6 separate regions of the Homo sapiens genome follow, and all the other regions are linked to region 5. The links are contacts of gene promoters, found by promoter capture Hi-C in blood cells and fetal thymus (Javierre and others, 2016). All regions are on one chromosome and are shown on one strand. The core of a region is centred on a gene start or on the middle of the fragment in contact, and the rest is flanking DNA. Distances in the headings are between cores, read along the strand shown.

What was found. Contacts are between HindIII fragments. The CHiCAGO score rates a contact against its expected background, and 5 or more counts as called.
Region 1: the fragment with the promoter of MALSU1 here is called in contact with the fragment with the promoter of SP4 in region 5 in 2 of 17 cell types (total B cells and neutrophils); the score reaches 8.0 in total B cells.
Region 2: a contact is called between a fragment that was not itself captured here and the fragment with the promoter of SP4 in region 5, in 1 of 17 cell types (naive CD8 T cells). The highest score is 5.6, in naive CD8 T cells.
Region 3: a contact is called between a fragment that was not itself captured here and the fragment with the promoter of SP4 in region 5, in 1 of 17 cell types (naive CD8 T cells). The highest score is 6.1, in naive CD8 T cells.
Region 4: a contact is called between a fragment that was not itself captured here and the fragment with the promoter of SP4 in region 5, in 2 of 17 cell types (total CD4 T cells and naive CD8 T cells). The highest score is 6.5, in total CD4 T cells.
Region 6: a contact is called between a fragment that was not itself captured here and the fragment with the promoter of SP4 in region 5, in 3 of 17 cell types (total CD4 T cells, naive CD8 T cells and non-activated CD4 T cells). The highest score is 6.4, in total CD4 T cells.

Annotation. Positions count from the first base shown.
Region 1 is chr7:23,297,925-23,300,743 of GRCh38, forward strand. It overlaps MALSU1 (mitochondrial assembly of ribosomal large subunit 1), which reads left to right and starts at 1,415. Exons shown (of 4, transcript NM_138446.2): 1 at 1,415-1,684. The coding sequence starts at 1,429. RefSeq lists an enhancer at 1,232-1,721. The HindIII fragment of the contact is 9,022 bases long and covers 1-2,819 here.
Region 2 is chr7:22,858,414-22,861,203 of GRCh38, forward strand. It overlaps SNHG26 (small nucleolar RNA host gene 26), which reads left to right. Exons shown (of 5, transcript NR_146320.1): 4 at 2,134-2,225; 5 at 2,473-2,790. Among named protein-coding and RNA genes, the nearest start is that of SNORD93, 3.2 kb to the left of the region's middle. RefSeq lists an enhancer at 97-1,296. The HindIII fragment of the contact is 1,561 bases long and covers 547-2,107 here.
Region 3 is chr7:23,182,541-23,185,328 of GRCh38, forward strand. It overlaps NUP42 (nucleoporin 42), which reads left to right. Exons shown (of 7, transcript NM_007342.3): 2 at 2,530-2,758. Among named protein-coding and RNA genes, the nearest start is that of NUP42, 1.9 kb to the left of the region's middle. The HindIII fragment of the contact is 1,370 bases long and covers 569-1,938 here.
Region 4 is chr7:23,015,715-23,018,697 of GRCh38, forward strand. No RefSeq gene overlaps it. Among named protein-coding and RNA genes, the nearest start is that of HYCC1, 3.1 kb to the left of the region's middle. The HindIII fragment of the contact is 568 bases long and covers 1,041-1,608 here.
Region 5 is chr7:21,426,488-21,429,626 of GRCh38, forward strand. It overlaps SP4 (Sp4 transcription factor), which reads left to right and starts at 1,596. Exons shown (of 6, transcript NM_003112.5): 1 at 1,596-1,771; 2 at 2,190-2,305; 3 at 2,802-3,139. The coding sequence starts at 1,765. RefSeq lists silencers at 530-919, 1,300-1,889. The HindIII fragment of the contact is 8,073 bases long and covers 1-3,139 here.
Region 6 is chr7:23,106,909-23,109,672 of GRCh38, forward strand. All of the region lies in intron 1 of KLHL7 (kelch like family member 7), which reads left to right. Among named protein-coding and RNA genes, the nearest start is that of KLHL7, 2.5 kb to the left of the region's middle. RefSeq lists an enhancer at 1-38. The HindIII fragment of the contact is 2,615 bases long and covers 7-2,621 here.

The DNA.
Region 1 (2,819 bases), core at 165-2,664, 1.9 Mb after region 5:
TAGAAACAGACTGGAGACAGGAAAGCCAGGTAGGAGGCAGTCTCTGTAATTAGGCAAGAACTAATGAGGGTGTGGACTAAGGAAGAAACAGTGGAAATGAAGACAAGAAGCTGAACTCACAGAAACATTTTGGAGGTCACATAAGCAGGATTTTGACAACAGATTCGTTTGTTGTATGAAGATCCTGGACTGAATGAAGTCTAGGGTTTGGGAGTTTTGAAGGGATAATGACCCATTAAATGAGCTGGCAAATACAGGTGGTAAAGCAGGTCTGGGATGTTCAGAGAAGGGTGGGAACACGGAATGGATGCCAGAAGCTGGGAGAAAAGCCAAGTTCATGCCTGTGGAAAAATGGAATTGAGGATGGGGCTAAAATTGGACAGAGGAAACTTAATCTGTAATGTTTTTCTTCTTTTCAAAAATAACTTGAAGTGGTTGTACATATCTGGTGTGATATACACAAATGCTTAATTTCTCTATTTTTAAAAAACTTCCCAAAATTAGTGCTTGGAATTATTTAAAATAATGTAGCAAACATTTTTGGAGTGCCTGCTATGTGTCTGGCACTGTTTCAGGCATTTGAAATATTTGCTCTCTATGAAGCCTTCCTTTCAGCAGTTAGCAGGCCTGGAGTTCAGAAGCCAGAAACTGGCTTCTGATTCTGACGCAGTCAGTAAGTGTATGACCTGGGCAAGTTGCTTCCCTGCGGCGTCCCACGCCCCCAAAACCCCCCACCCCCCCACCCGTGCCAGGAATCTATCGCAGTTCTCAAGTCCTGTGACTTAATACCGCAGCTGGCACCTCAGAATTCCTTATTCTTACAGAGCTGGTCCCCACAGTACCGCCCCTGGGCGTAAACTCCTCCATACAGGGAGTGTAGATGATGGGCTGACCTAAGAACGGTTTCCAAATGGTCCTTTACACCTCTGCCTCCCACCCCACTCTAGCCCAGGATAACAGATTTTCCTCGCGCAATTTCAAATTTGCAAGGGAATCTTGAATATTTTCTGGTAATGAGAGAGGGTAGATTATATGTCCTAATCCCAGCCTAATCAGATTAACAGCAACTTCTGGACATTCAGTACCAGGAACTGTTTTAGGTGCTGTGGAGAGAAGAGTTAAAAATGAAACAAAAATTATTGCCTTCATGAGCCTCACATTAGTGGACAGAGTCCAAAAAAAAAGTGACAACGTAATGCGCTACTGCGACACAAAGCAAAGCAAGGTGGGCAAGCAACACTAGTTCTTTATTCCCGCACGCCCTAATCCCCAAGTAGCTCTTCCGGGTCACTGCAGTCTTCACGGGCTCCAGACTCCGCCCATGGTCCGTCCTTCAGGCCTTGACTCCGCCCACGCATCGACGTAGAATTTCCCGGCCGGGCTCCATGAAGTACCACCCACCCGCGACGCCGACGCAAGGCTGCTGCTATGGGGCCGGGCGGCCGTGTGGCGCGGCTGCTCGCCCCACTAATGTGGCGCAGGGCGGTTTCCTCGGTGGCGGGGTCCGCGGTTGGAGCCGAGCCCGGGCTTCGGCTGCTGGCCGTGCAGCGGCTTCCCGTAGGAGCAGCGTTCTGCCGGGCTTGCCAGACCCCAAACTTTGTCCGCGGCCTGCACAGCGAGCCTGGGCTGGAGGAGCGGGCGGAGGGGACGGTCAACGAGGGACGCCCAGAATCGGACGCGGCAGGTACGGGCGTGGAGAAGAACGAAGGCGACCCTCTCCGGGCAGTCTGGAGTCAGGTCCCAGCCAAGGTGGCTCTGGGTTCCCCTCTATGTGCATTTCTCTTGGAGTCACAAAACTCCTGCACATCCAGAGCTGGAAGGGACTTCAAAGGTTGTTGGCGCCAACCTTCCCGTTTCACAGTGAAGAAATTGAGGGCAAGAGATGAACTGCAGAATCCCAGCCTCCCGGACGGCCATCTCCCACCCTTGGCATCACAGTCTCACCGTCCTCACTTCCTTTTACCCTCTTCCTAGGATCCTGGGAAATGGGTTTGTGGGGACTGTTGGGGCTTGAGGATTCTGAGGAGCCAGGGTCTGGGTGCGAAGGGGTGCGTAGGAAGCGCCAGTAGGAGATGGGTCCAAGTTAATATCCTCTAGTTATTGCTGACGTTTTTAGAAACTTAAGAATGGTAAACAGATCACATCTAAGAATGTAGAGTATGAGAGGGAGAGGCCTTAGTGGGCTTAGCTACTAGGTCCTTTGGAGTCGGCTTTAGAACTTGGGCGAGCTTTTAAATTTACAGCCTGTAATACTCCAAGCTGAAGATCAGAATATCTAAATCTTTACGGGAAAAAAAATTAGATTTTCATAGGTAACAGTTGTTAATAACCCGGTGGTTTTATATGAAAACTGGAAGGTTCAAAATAATAATTACTCAAAAATGTAGCTCTTTCAGTGACTGATCTTAGGCCACAGTAATTCTCCTAGGCCTCAGTTTCTTCATCTCTCAACTGAAGGTTGTGGACCAGATACTGCCTAAGAGCCCTTCCAGCTCACAATTCTGTGACCCGTTATGACTGAGATTCAATTTAATATGCTCCAGGATATCACCTCCTACCCATTTTGTGGTGCTGTTTTTCTTTGCACAGCATTTCTGTGATTGTGGTGTATTGCTCCTTTTAAGTATTAGTAGAAAGTCATTTGTCACTGGTGTCTGGTTCTACTTGCATATGGTTAATAGCGAAGGATGTATAGTGGCTCTGCGTAATCTGAGCACCCTGACCATAAAAGTTGAGCGGTGCTATGATACTACTGCCCAGGTTCACCTTCCAGGAGGCCTTTACCCTGCTATCTGTAAAAACACTTTGGATCTAAACAC
Region 2 (2,790 bases), core at 77-2,576, 1.4 Mb after region 5:
GGGCAGGAAGGAATTGTTAGTGTGATTCTACAGTTCTGCATCTTGATTATGGTATGACTGTGCGTTTGTCAAACCTTAACAGGATGAATTTTGCTGAATGTAAAATCATACTTCAATAAACATGACTTTAAAAACTTAACCCTCCTTGGCATTTCAGTGGTGTTTCCAGTGAAATCTATGGCAAGATGGTTTGGGGTCACTATCTACATGAACTGCCAAGTTGGAAAATCAAAAATACATCAAAATCACTCTTGGGACATAAGTCACGGAAGTGACTCATGCACACAATAAATACCCAAGAAGCAGGACCAGACGGCAGTTGTGTATTGGCACGCTCATCAGTGCTGCAAAAATTCCCCTTCTGGATGGCAACAACAATGCTGTATCCACAGCAGCATTTTAAATCTCACCTCTGATGTATCCATTGTTGTGGGCATGAGATGGCAGAAAGTGGGATATGGAAAATGTTGCCGTGCGCCATTCCGAATACTACTGTGGCTTCCCTGCAGCATTACTTTCCATATTGGCTGTTTTCCATTTCAGGAAAGCTTAGGATGTCCTTGGTAAATACTGGCTAACCAAGAAATTTGAAAAATGAAAGGAGGCTGAGTAATTGGTCTTGGGTTGAAACGGGGTGATGCTGCATAAACTACGTGGTTGACTCTGAAAAGCTGGCTAAAAAGCCAGTCTGCATTCCTTGTCCTCATTTCCTTGGAGTAATGAAGGGTGCTTCTTAGAAGAGGGATAGATTCAAGTATGGGTTGTGAGTCATTCTTCTTTTCTGTATGTAATAGGTCTAACCACAGGGCCTGTTGAGCCCTGCCCTGGTGACCAAGAGCATTTTCTGACATGAACAGAGTTAGGCCATCTTGCCCGTATGAGCAGAGTTCTTCAGATGTCCCTTAGGATTCTAGGTTTCATACCTTCCCTGCCACTCCCCCACTACCAAATCCCCTTACCCTATAGCCTAGCAATGCAGAGTTGTCCAATATAGAACCTCTGTTAAACATAGCATCACCCAGGAAAATGGGATGAGTGGTTGCAGTCAGTACCACAGTTCTGCAGAATCAACTTGCTTACCTTAGTACATTGCCTGTCTACGTGTTTAGCAGAGCTAAAAGCAGGAATGGACTGTTAAACTACCATCCTTTTGTGCTCAAGTGCCATGAAGAGAAGCAAACCTGGAGTTGAAAGTTTTCAAAGAGGGCTTCCAAGTGAGGAACTTGGGCATGTGAATCTTTAATTATGACTATAAAAGAAATTGTGATTGGAAATAGAATTTTTATGCTAGTGGTTATGATTTCATTGAAAATAGGAAATCTTATTTAAGAACTCTGGTCACAAAACCTCCCCAGATAGTGACGTAAATAAGACCCAGTGTAACAACTGTGGCATTGACATGTCAGTTCATGTAGATTGAGTCACAATTTGATTTCGAGAATGGCCATATCCCATTTTGTCTTACTCCATGGTGTTCCTGAGCACTTGGATACAAATAGATTCTGTTTCCTAAAAGTAGCCAAATCTTTGTAGTTCAAGTGAATATTCCAGACTAAAATATGTGTCTTTTTGAAGGTCCTTAAGCCTTACATACTTAATTGTGTAATTTGGCAAATATTTGCTGTTGTGTTGTGTCAAGTCCTGTGATAGAGACAGTTCCTACCTTTCTGGAGCTTTCACAGTGTGACTCATTTCAGTACGTAAGTCGGAGCCAGTTTTAATAGAATGTTCTCTGGTTGACTTCTGTTGTAAGGAATAATTTCATTTCATGTCTGGGTCAATATGTGAAAGATTAAATTATTAGGGCAAACTGAAAAAAAAAATCTAGTTTTACCCCCCCACCACCACATTCCCAAAATAATTTAGCATGGTTTATAACAAATATCAAGCAACAATAATTAGAAGCAGATAAAAGCTCAGCAAGTAGAGGGCAAGAATAAAAAACCTAACTGTTAGATCTCATGCTGTAGGCTCCAGCCAAGTTGTCTCTGAGCTTCCTAAGAGCAAAGAGCCAACTGGCAAGTTAGTAATCAGGCAATTGCCATAATTTTCTAATGGAGGAGGGGAGTGGTCATGTGCATTCTAAGCTCTTTAAAGCCGAGGAGTAAGCTTTCTTTCCTTCATGATCTCAAGTACTCTACTTTGAAGAAAGGAATGGAACAGAAGGTGTCTGCATAACTAAATGGGGATCTAGAGAAAGTGGAGACTGCCTCTGGAGCAGGGAGGTGAGTGGACCAGATCACTGTGGGCCTGGGCCTACTCAGCTGATTTTCAAGCTAAAACCAGGGGTAACTTTTCCTCTTGAGACGAAAGCCATGCTCACATTCTGTGAACAGCCAGAGATGTGTTCGAAAGGCTTACTTTTATTTTGTACTAGAAAAGATTGTCTTTCCAAAATTTACCTCGTATTCATAAACTGGAAAGTTCTGATGGCAATATTTTGTTACAAAATTGTCATTAATCACAATCCAGGATTATGCCACCATGACTAGAAGGCCCCCTAATGGAGTTTATCTGCACTGCAAGGGGCCAGTTGTCTCAGAATCATCCTCCGTTGACATCTCCATCTCCAGGACAGCTCCACACTAATCTGTTTCAAAGACAAAATCCAGTCTAATCAGTTTGATGTATGTTTCTGGGAATAGAGCCGAATGTTGTAGCTGATGGAATGGAGTCTCATACCATTGATTTTGCAGCTGGACAAGTGCCCTGCCATGTTACTGCCACTCTTTAAGGCAGAATAGAGCACATTGTATCATTTATAGGCCTCTCACAGTGAGAAATATGTGG
Region 3 (2,788 bases), core at 4-2,503, 1.8 Mb after region 5:
AGGCTAGCAGCTTGGGTCAGAATCAGGACTTCATTTTGGAGAAGTCGTGGACTTCTTTGAAAAAATCTAATAAAACCGGCCGGGCGGTGGCTCACGCCTGTAATCCCAGCACTTTGGGAGGCCGAGGCGGGCGGATCACGAGGTCAGGAGTTTGAGACCAGCCTGACCAACATAGTGAAACACCGTCTTTACTAAAAATACCAAAAAAAAAAAAAAAAAAAAAAATAGCCGGGCGTGGTGGCGCGCGCCTGTAATCCCAGCTACTCATGAGGCTGAGACAGGAGAATCGCTTGAACCCGGGAGGTGGAGGTTGCAGTGGGCCGAGATCGTGCCACTGCACTCCAGCCTGGGCGACAGAGCGAGACTATCAAAAAAAAAAAAAGAAAGAAAGAAAAGAAAAAAAGAAAATCTAATAAAACCTATAGAGCCATACCGCAAAAATGCACCTGCTCATAAATTTGGGGTGAAATTGGGAATGTGGGACGCCCAGTTAAGGGCTATCCGGGAGGTGAGGAAAGGAGATGCGGGGGCCACGTTGATCTAGTCCCTGGGCCTAGATCATTGTCAAAGCTTTTTATCTTCAAGGAAAGGAGAGATTAGACATGAAACCTTAGAACAACACAAGATTTTTAAAGATCGGGTTAATAATTCGGTGCTGTCTCCCTTCCTTCCCCTCCTTTAGGGCTATTCATCTGACCTTTATTTTTTTATTTTATTTTGAGACGGAGTCTTGCTCTCTCAGTCAGGCGGCTCACTGCGACCTCCGCCTCCCAGGCTCAAGCGATTCTTATGCCTCAGTCTCCCGAGTAGCTGGGATTACGGGTGCCCGCCACCATGCCCTTGATAATTTTTGTATTTTTAGTAGAGACAGGGTTTTGCCATTTTGGCCATACCGGTCTCGAACTCGTGACCTAAGGTGATACTCCCGCTTCCGTCTTTCAAAGTGCTGGGATTACAGGCGTGAGCGACCGCGGCGGGCCTCATCTAACCTTTAAACCTTGTATTGCGTGATGGTTTCACGTCTGATCCCACTTCAGGGAAGACAGTCCTTTTATTTCCTCCACAATTAATCTAGTGAAATATTTCAGACCGAAAATTAGGACTCATGTCTGATGAATGTGAGTGTAAACAAAATTTGGCAGACAAATTGTATTTAGCTCCCAGAAACAAATGAATGTTTCTGGAATTATAAGTATGAAGACCAAAAGCAATGTAAAAAAAAAAAAAAAAAAAAAAAAGGAGGAAGTGAGTTTCTTCAGTTGTATCATCCCCCAGTGAATTTGGAACTTTAGAAGAAGAAGATACCATTAACTTCTACTTGAGGGATCTGGTCTAGCAATCTCCACTTTTTTTTTTTTTTTTTTTAGGGTAGTTTAGAGTTGCAGGATGAACTTTCACAACTGGGCATGTGTGTCATTCTAACTTTTAATATAATTAATGGCTTATCTCTTTATTCAGTCAGAAACAAGATGAATTACCTTAATCTTGGCCCCAACTAGGAAGTGATGAGTAAATGAGATTGCTAAAATGATTTTAAAAAACAAAACAAAACCAATATATAAAGAGAGGAGAGAATCTTTTTGGCTCATTTTGATATTTATGAAATATTGGAAAGCTGGTAGAGGAACTACATGCATTCTGTACACATGTAAATACCATGTATAATCTCTCTGTGAAAATAGGTGTGTAGGTGTTTGCCCAGAGAAAAGACTGCGTCAAATAGACTTAAGCATCTGTACAAAAACAGAGGGTAGAATGTAATCTTTCATATTCGAGAAACTTTAATTCAATGTCCATTTTTCAGCCTTTACTACAGTATAGGGCCTGGTGGGGGAGCAAAGAATGATAAAAACCCAAGTTTTTATCCTGAAGGAGTTTATGATTTATGATGCATGCCTTCTGTCAACTTTTAACTATCAAGCAGTTGTTCATTTAATAAGCTTTGTCAGCTGAATTTAGTAATATATCACTATTTTTCTATATTATTTTCTTCTCAATCTCAAACAAAAATGCAATTGGCCACTATGTGATTTGTTGATATTACAACCTAACTACTGTATATAAATAAAAAATGAAGAGATTGTCATTTAAAATGAGTTTAAATGTAGTGCTTGTTGAATCTTTCTATATTGTCTAGACATACTAAGATATAATGAAGATTTTTGAGATTTTAAAGAACAGTTGCTGGGCACAGTAGCTCATGCCTATAATTCCAGCACTTTGGGAGGCTGAGGCAGGTGGATCTCTTGAGCCCAGGAGTTTGAGACCAACCCCGGGCAATATGGCAAGACCTTATCTCTACAAAAAGTACAAAAATTAGCCAGACATGGTGGTTTGCGCCTGTGGTCCCAGCTACTCAGGAGGCTGAGGTGGGAGGATCGATTGAGCTTAGGAGGTTGAGGTTACAGTGAGCCAAGATCATGCCACTGTACTCCACCCTGGGCAAAAGAGTGAGACCCTATCTCAATTAAAAAGAAAATAGAAAGAAAAGTTGCTAGTAAAATTATTTTGTTTTATTGTTTATTTTAGGTAATAATAGACGTGGATGGAATACAACTAGCCAGAGATATTCCAATGTCATCCAGCCATCCAGTTTCTCCAAATCCACACCATGGGGGGGCAGCAGAGATCAAGAAAAGCCATATTTCAGTTCTTTTGATTCTGGAGCTTCAACTAACAGGAAGGAAGGCTTTGGATTGTCTGAGAACCCATTTGCTTCACTTAGTCCTGATGAGCAGAAAGATGAAAAGAAACTTCTGTAAGTGAAAGTTTTCAGGAAAATTACTAT
Region 4 (2,983 bases), core at 75-2,574, 1.6 Mb after region 5:
CTGGGATTACAGACATGAACTACCATACACGGCTGAAACTCAATTTTTAATTTTTTTTTTTTTTGGCAGAGTCTCCCTCTGTCACCCAGGCTGGAGTACAGTGGTGGGATCTTACCTCACTGCACTTCCACTTCCCAGGTTCAAGCAATTCTCCTGCCTCAGCCTCCTGAGTAGCTGGGGTTACATGAACTCACCACCACACCCAGCTAATTTTTGTATTTTTTGTAGAGACAGGGGTTCACCATGTTGGCCAGGCTGGTCTCGAACTCCTGACCTCAGGTGCTCCACCCACCTCAGCCTCCCAAAGTGCTGGGATTACAGGTGTGAACCACCATGTCTGGCATTAATTTTTAATTTTAACTTTAACAACTCCCATATTGGATAGCTCAGGTTTAGATTTTCTTCTTAAGGCAATGAGGGACAGACAACAGCTTTTAATCATGTGGACAATGCAATCAGGTTTCTTTTAAATGGTGAGAATCCAAAGAAAAAAAAACAGGGTAGAGAGGAAATTCTTGACAGATCAGACTGACTTAATTTAGGTCCCCTTGGCCAGAGCCTGTTCAGGACAAGTGTTTACTCAAAGAAATAGGGAGAGGAAGATCCAGGCAGCATGTTATTCATCTTAGAGAACACAAGCAGTCAAAACCTGAGACGTTGAATTCTGCCGTCAAGTCCCATTGAGTAGGAGAGTGAGGGACCAAGGAAGGAAAGAAACCGAGTCAGCCAGATCATAAGATAGAGAGAAACAAGAGTGGGCAAAAGAGTGCACACCTACGCGCATGCACACACACACACACACACACACACACACCATCAGTTTTACTGGCCATTGGCCATGTGTGCCAGTAATGTGTTGACCTGATTTGAAGAGCCAAAGTTTCTGGTGGCAGGAAGCCCAGCCAAGACCAGGACAAGATTCCAGGAGAGAATCTCGAACCAAACCTGTGGAAGTCAGGATGGAAGGGACAGGTAAATATTATTGACTTCCTGTACTGTACAAGGCACGTGGCTTGTCAAGGATACAGATGAATGCTAGAAGCTTGCTTATAGTATAGTTAGCTGCATAACAAACAGATGAAAGGTTAAGCAAAGATTAAAGTAATTATTTAATGCAGCAGTGGAGAGATTACATAAGGCAGTACATAATCGATTCATTGTTCAAATGATTTTCTAGGCATTAGCCGCTGTGTTTTCAGAGGAGGATGCAAGCACTGCAGTCAAGGGCAGTCAGGGAAGGCTTCATGAAAAAGGCAAAATGGGCTGGGTCTAGAAAACTGGGGAGGAATTTGAACCAGATAAAATGGTGAGAAAGTAACTCCCAGAATGCCTGGAGAAATAACACAAGAGGGGAAGCACAAGCAATGTTCAGAGGGCATGGGAGGCAACTTGAGTCAGCCAAGCCTGGCAAGCTAGGTTGCAGATAGATAATAGAACACCTTGAAGGCAAGCTCAGTTGTTCAGATTTTCTCCTTTTGCCTTGTGGCTTCCTGTCTGCTCATTAGAATCACTTAGGATGCCTTTCAAAATTATCAGTACTCAAACCGCACCCCACAGTAAATAAATAAATAAATTGGTGTGTGAGGCTAGTCATTGGGTTTTTAAAAAAGCTTCCCAAGTGGTTCTAATATACACCCAAGGTTGACAAAAGGGAAATAATATAACATGTTACTAGTGCCAAATCAGTGCCGTGCATAGGATAGATTGAGTGGAGAGAAACTGAAGTTTGGCTATGTATATTTATATATAATTTGTTTCCTTCCTGCAAGAAGACAGGAAGCAGTTTACTGCCTGACTTCACTTCCCATTTTGCAGTGGTAAGGTAGTATAGAAGGCAATTTAAGTTGTCTTCCCTCTAAGTCAGAGTAAAACGAAAGCACAAATTTATGTTTCCAGTCTACTCTCCTTTCCATCACAATTTGTGCATATAAAAATAATTTCCAACAATAACAGTCTGCAGTTAAGTTTTACACATAGCCGTTTATATTTTAATCGCAAAGCACCAGAAAAAATGCCTAAGAGAACATTCTGTTTCAAAAGGAAAATGCTTTTAACCTACTTTATAAAAGTCAACATATTCCAGATCTTTCCTGCTCATCTTTGCTAGTCTCTGATATCCACACGCATAATTCTAAAGTAACTATTAAAATGCATTTATCTTCTTGCAAATAACTGTATAAAAGTGCCAGTTGAACATTATAAACATAAACATTTTCCCTATGACATTAAATTTCAGGAATTTTAAGAAAAATTTAGTTCAAATATCTTTCTCTTTTTTTCTTTTTCTTTTCCTTTCTTTGTTTCGTTTTGTTTTTGAGACAGAGTCTGATTCTGTCACCCAGGCTGGAGTGCAGTGGCACCATCTTAGCTCACTGCAACCTCCACCTCCTGGGTTCAAGCGATTCTCGTACCTTAGCCTCCTGACTTGCTGGGGCTACAGGTGTGTGCCACCGTGCCTGGTTAATTTTTGTATTTTTTTGGTAGAAACATGGTTTCACCATGTTGGCCAGGCTGGTCTCGAACTCTTGGCCTCAAGTGATCTGCCCACTTTGGCCTCCCACAGTGCTATGATTATAGGTATGAGCCACCATGCCCGGCCTAGTTCAAATATTATATATTTCTATTAAAGTCAATTGGACAACAACTGTTGTTAAAATGGTTAAAATAGATAACATGATTATTTTAAATTAAAAAGAATTTTGTTTAAAAAAACATGAAAAATATGTCAAAATGTTGCTTTTGTGGTATGTTAAACATTCTTTAAGAAAAAAGAAAATCAAAGAAATGAAGTCAAAACAAAAAGAGTGTGCCTGAGAGGTCATTCAAGGGCTTGCTATATCAGATTCCCTTTTTAAGGGAACTACCCCAGCCAGTGGACCCAGCTGAGGCAGCAACCTGAGCCATGATCTATACCATACAACCCCCTTCATGAACTGTATAACCCAAGGGCAGCCAACCTCAAGAGGTGACCTGACATGAACAC
Region 5 (3,139 bases), core at 346-2,845:
AAAATGCCCAAGGCTGAGTGTGAAGCCCAGGTAAGAAGTGAGACAATGGCTTTGAGCCTGGGGTGTAAGCATGCCTTGTTCCCAAGGCCAGTATTTACATGTGGGGTCACTTCCACCTTTGGTACAGTTAATCAGGCGCTGATTACGTTCCATGGCATCATCCTGACTTCAGGACTTTGTAGGAAAGCTGAGGCAGGACACTGCTCAAGTGCATTTGACAGTAAGATGCTTTGTGCAGCCAGATGTTAATTCCACTTGCCCTTACGCTTGCTTACGCTACACCGTAAGCGGGGCTGACCCTTATGGAGCTGGGCTTTTCTTCGCCCGGAGACTCTTGTCAGATAAGGCTTAGAACTCCGCCAACCACTTAGGCTTTTAGGCAAAACGCGATGCAACCCTTCTTAGAAGGCGGGTCACTGCTCTGCACCAGCTGCCAGCCAGAGAGACAACAAATAAAAATGGAAGATCCTTCTCCGTGAGAAAACAGGCCTCGGACTCAAAGCAGGGGGCCTGAGGGGAAGGTGAGCAAAGAAAGGCAAGGCGAGGGCGCTGCTTCAAGAAGCCGGGTTCATTCAAACCCCGAGGACAGCAAACCCCGCCTCCCCACGCCGCCGCCCGCTCAATCGCCGAGCGCTCCGGGTGTGAGCTCGCCCCGCGGGGAGCGGCTTGGAGCCGAGGAGGCGGCGGCAGAGGTGGTTTGGGCAGCCCCGCGCGGCGGATAGGCCCAGGCAAACAACACCCATTCCCCCTCCTCCTCGCTCAGTTCAACTCCCACTCGGCCCCGGCCACGCCCTGCCGCCACCGCCCCCTCGGGCAGCTTTCCGCTCGGCAGCCAGGCCTCGGTCGGGGGCGGGAGAGAGGCGGTGCCTCGAAGAAGGCACCGCGACCGCCGGAAACTACGAGTACCGACAGCCTTCGCGGTAGTGCCCCACCCCCTTTCTCCCACCACTCAGCGCGCGTCACCCTGGGCTCAGCCAATGGAGACAGAGCCAGGGAAAAAGGGCGCCCGGGTCCGGATGCGCCTCAGGAAAGCCATGCTCCCTGCGCGGGGGCAGCGGGCAGTTCACCCAGCGCGCCGACCTGTTGGTGGTCCGCGCGCGCCCACGTCCGCCGCTCTCGCTTGCCTGGATCAAGGGCCCTACTTTTTTCTTTAGTGGCAATTGGAGGGATTGCTGGAGGGGGTTTTTGAGTGGAGGGCGCTGGGAAATGAGTAGGGGGCGGGATATCCTGAGACAACAAGTTTGGCTGTATGGAGGGCCTACCGGCAGCGCTCCTGAGCTAGAACGCCGAGAGAAAGAGCGCCAGAGGAGCCAGGGAGGAGGAGAAGAGCTGCTAAAGGAATAACCCCGAGAAAGGGGGTGGAGAGGAGGCGGCCCCAGCGCCCCGGCCCCCGGCAGGTCGGCGGCCAATCCGCTGGGGGAAGGGGTGGAGAGTCGGAGGCTCCGGCGGAGAGAGGCCGAGGGGGGTGGGGAGTCGGCCAGGCTCGCACCGCCCTGGCCCCGCCCCCGACCCGCGCCGCCGCCCGCGCCGCGCGCCGCCGCTGTCAATCAAGGGCGAGTCAGCCGGGCTCGGGCGGAGAGAGGAGCTGCTACGCCACAGCCCAGCGGCGGCCATTCGCGGAAAAAGAGGCAGAGCCTGTGCCAGCTACAGCCTCCTCCGAGCCACCGCGGGCGGGCGGGACCGGCCTCTCCTCCCGCCTCGCCCCCACCCCCACCCACCTCTATCCCAGTGTCTCCGTCTGAGGGTTTGTCCTGTTAATGCGGGATGAGCGGTACGTATTCTCCACCCCCCTCAGTCTCCTTCGCCGCCTCCCTCTCTCCCTCCCTCCCCAGACCCTGCTCGGTTCTCCCCCCTCCCCCGGGGCCGCTGAGATGCTTTAAGGGGAGGAGGAGAGGGCGGGAGGGAATCGGGGAGGGAAGGAGGGTTGTGTTTTGTCTTAATGTCTGAGAGAGAACAACCTCCTTCTGGGTGTTGCTCTGGAGCCGATGGGTCGGGTTTCAAACCACGTTTTGTGATATCCCCCTCCTCCCTTCCCTCCTTCTCCCCCACCCCCTGCCGGTGTGCGTGGATCGCGGGTTTATGGAGATTAATGTTCGGGGGGAGGGGGGAGAAGAGGAGAGGAAGAAGACGAATAATAATAATCCTAATAACCTGTTGTCGTGTGTGTGTGGTGGGGGGGTTTGTTGCAGATCAGAAGAAGGAGGAGGAGGAGGAGGCGGCAGCGGCAGCGGCGATGGCTACAGAAGGAGGGAAAACCTCTGAGCCAGAGAATAACAATAAAAAACCCAAAACCTCAGGCTCCCAGGTAAAAGCAAACAAATTAAAAAAATTCATCACGACACATTAGGAGAGAGAGGGAGTTATGCCCTTTGAATGTCCAGAAGTAACAGAATAAAATGTTTATCCACTCAAAGCATCTTTCTGAGAGTGTGGAACTTAAATTGTAAATTCATCAAGTTTTCACCTCTTTGAGGGTATAACGCTGTTTAAAATTACATCAGGAATTCAGACTATAAGAAAACGGTGTGTGTGTTCCCAAGGGCATTTTGAGTTTAGGAACATAACACTTTACAAAGTTGTAAAGAAATTTCCTTTTATTTAAACTTGATATTATAGGACTTGCTTCCTTATTCATATAGTTCTTATCTACTTTTGTTCGTATTTCTTTTTGATTTCTGCTGCTTCCTAAATTGTTATGTAGAGCTGTCAAAATAAGTAACCCCCTGGCAACTACTGGCCTCCACTAAATCCGCCCACTTTTTTTCCCCCCCCCCTCTCCTTTACCGTCCCATTTTGGGTAGGACTCTCAGCCCTCTCCTCTGGCTTTACTGGCAGCTACTTGCAGCAAAATAGGGACTCCTGGTGAAAATCAAGCAACTGGACAACAACAAATTATTATAGATCCAAGTCAAGGATTGGTGCAACTTCAAAATCAACCACAACAGCTAGAACTGGTAACAACGCAACTTGCTGGAAACGCTTGGCAACTTGTTGCCTCCACTCCTCCTGCTTCAAAAGAGAATAACGTTTCTCAACCAGCCTCTAGTTCGTCTAGTTCTTCCAGCAGTAATAACGGGAGTGCATCTCCTACAAAAACTAAATCAGGTAATTCTTCCACCCCTGGTCAATTTCAAGTCAT
Region 6 (2,764 bases), core at 64-2,563, 1.7 Mb after region 5:
TCTGTAAGCTTTATTTATAGATAATACACATCTAAGTAGATTTGTGGGAATGTTTGGGTTTTGTTGACTGGGATCCTGTTTCAAGGGGACAAAGCAGGATGTGAGTTATGTGTAACTGCAAAACCTAGTTTGCTTTGTCTGGTGGTTCTGCTGGGAATATGGGCAACAGTAGAGGAATTTAAGATTTTTATGAAGATATTAACTTCTGGTTTCTATAAGCAAACGCTGACTGCTGGGATTTTGTCTTTGTTCACCAGCTCCTGCTACAGTGCACCAGTGCAGTCTGTGGGAATGCTTTTAAATCTTTCCTGGCCTGGCCTTTGTGCTGAAGTACTGTGAATGCCTGAATTCGTTAATTTATGTAACTGACTTTCATGTATCTATTTTCAAATTCATGTTCCTTTCATGTAAACCTTTTTGTATCTACAATACCACAGACTTCAAATTGCTGGTGCATTTAGCTATTGCCTGCCTGTAATGGTAGTTGAACATAGTTAACCAGGGCTTAAACTCGTTGAAGACTCATTAGGTTCCCTCCCACTCCCTCGAATATATGTTTTCATTCGTGGATCATAGCATTGTAAAGCATTGCCTTAATCCCTAAATAGGGTGAAACTGGATTGCAGCAGCAAATATTTACTTGAGGAGCAGAGGATTATCTGAGACTGTCCGTTTAGCTCTTTGGATTTAAAAAGTGACTCACATTTCTTAGCTTTGGAGTATATTAACATCACTTATTTACCGTTACAATAGAAGTACAATTACTGAAAAATCAGGGTTCTGTTACTGAGTAGGAAGGAAAAAATGGTTACCTGGTGAACAACCAGGGGTCCCCTCCACAATGATTAACTGACCTTAATCTGCCAGGTTCTCCTGTTGTCAGTGGTTTGGCATGTGATTCAAACAGTTCTCCAATAGCACTTTTATCAACTTCATGGAATCATGCATCTTTTGCAAGATGTGCAGTTTCACTTCGCAATTGATTTACATTATGGTTATATTGTATTGTCCTGTTTAACATCATAACACAGGAAACAATTGACCGAGAATGACTGACAAGGGCAGTTGATGGGAATTGGCAGAAACAGTGGCTGGTCTGAGCCAGAGTAGGAATGTTTGAGTGAGGACCAACTTTATAAGTGCTCTTGTTCTTTAGTAAATATTTTTGTGTTATGACTACTTTTACATCCCTTTACAATCTCATTGCTTTAAGGATCAGGATAATGAGTGCCTAGATGACAAGGACCCCTCTGTAAACATCCAGAAACATTCCTTCAAGAATTTGAGAACATTGTGAGATTAGCATACCTCAGTTCCAATCCTGCTCTCTCATTATTTCATTTTGTTATTTTAGATAACATGATTTGGGTCATTCCATCTCTCTGTAGTATAGTGGCCGATTCTATACATAGAGGCAAAAGGGGATTCTGCAGAGCCAGCAGCCTCGGCTTCTTCTAAAGCCTTTTCCTACATTGTTTTTGTCATTTCTAGCCTTTTGTTTCTAAGTAAACTCTCCAGTGAAGTATGGGATACATATAAGAGGGCACAAATCATAAATGTATAGCTCAATTATTACAAAGTGCACATCCCACCAACAAGACGAGAACATGACCAGTACACCAGAGGTCCCCCCTTATGCCCTTCTCAGTCACCAACCCCACAGTAGTAACAACTATTCTAACTCTGTAACCATCGAAGTTAGAGCAGAAGCAACCATTGATAAATACCATGCCATGCCATCTTCTAAGGGCACTATGCACCCCTGTTATTAAGAGGAGCTCTTTGTTCTGTCTTTGGTGTGTGGTGCATTCATGAAAGTCTGCAGCACATCGGCAAAAAGTGGGTTTTTCCTGTGTTTGAACTTATATAAATGTAATCATATGGCATAAACTCTTGTGTTTTGTTTTCTTAAAGCCAACATTGTTTGTGAGATTCATCTGTGCTGTGTGTAGCGCTACTTCATCCTTGTGGTATATAGTATCCCATTGAATGAATATAGCACAATTTATCCATTCTATCATTATGAACATTTGGGTTATTTCTAGTTTGGAACTATTAAGACTAGTACTACTTTGAACATTTTTGTACACTTTGTACATGCCTTTTGGTATGCATATGTATGTATTAATATTTGTGTTGGGAAATACCAAACAGGAATTTTTGAGTCATAAGCTATACCACCTTCAGCTTTAAAAGATATCGTCGTGTAGTTTTCCAAAGTGATTGTACCATGTTACGCTTCTGCCAGTTGTGTGTGAGAGAGGTTTTTGCTCCGCATCCCTGCCATCACTTGATGTTGTCAGTCTTATCACTTTAGCCATTCTAACTGGGTGTATAGGAGCATCTTATTTAATTGGATTGAGTACCTTTTCATTTATTTCTTTAACTTTTTGCTTAGATTAATGTTATTACCTGATATGTAAAATAGAGGCTTTACAAGGCAGGTCTGGGTCACAGTCACTATTGCACATGCACATTGCTGTTGCCATACTCTTCTTTTGTGTTAATGAAGTCCAGGAGTCTCTTAACATTGGAGGAAGATGTTTTAAGACCTTCCTGAGTACCACCATAGTTTATAGTTTCTCCACATTAAATGAATTAAAGCATAACTGGAACTTGAAAGCTTATGTTAAAGTCCTTATTGAGAGTTATGTGAGAGAACTACAAAGCTGATTTCACAATTAGATACTGGGCAGTTAACTGGGCTCACCTTCCGGCTAAAATGACTTTGCTTCTGTATTCTCATCTGTCTGACTGTAAATTA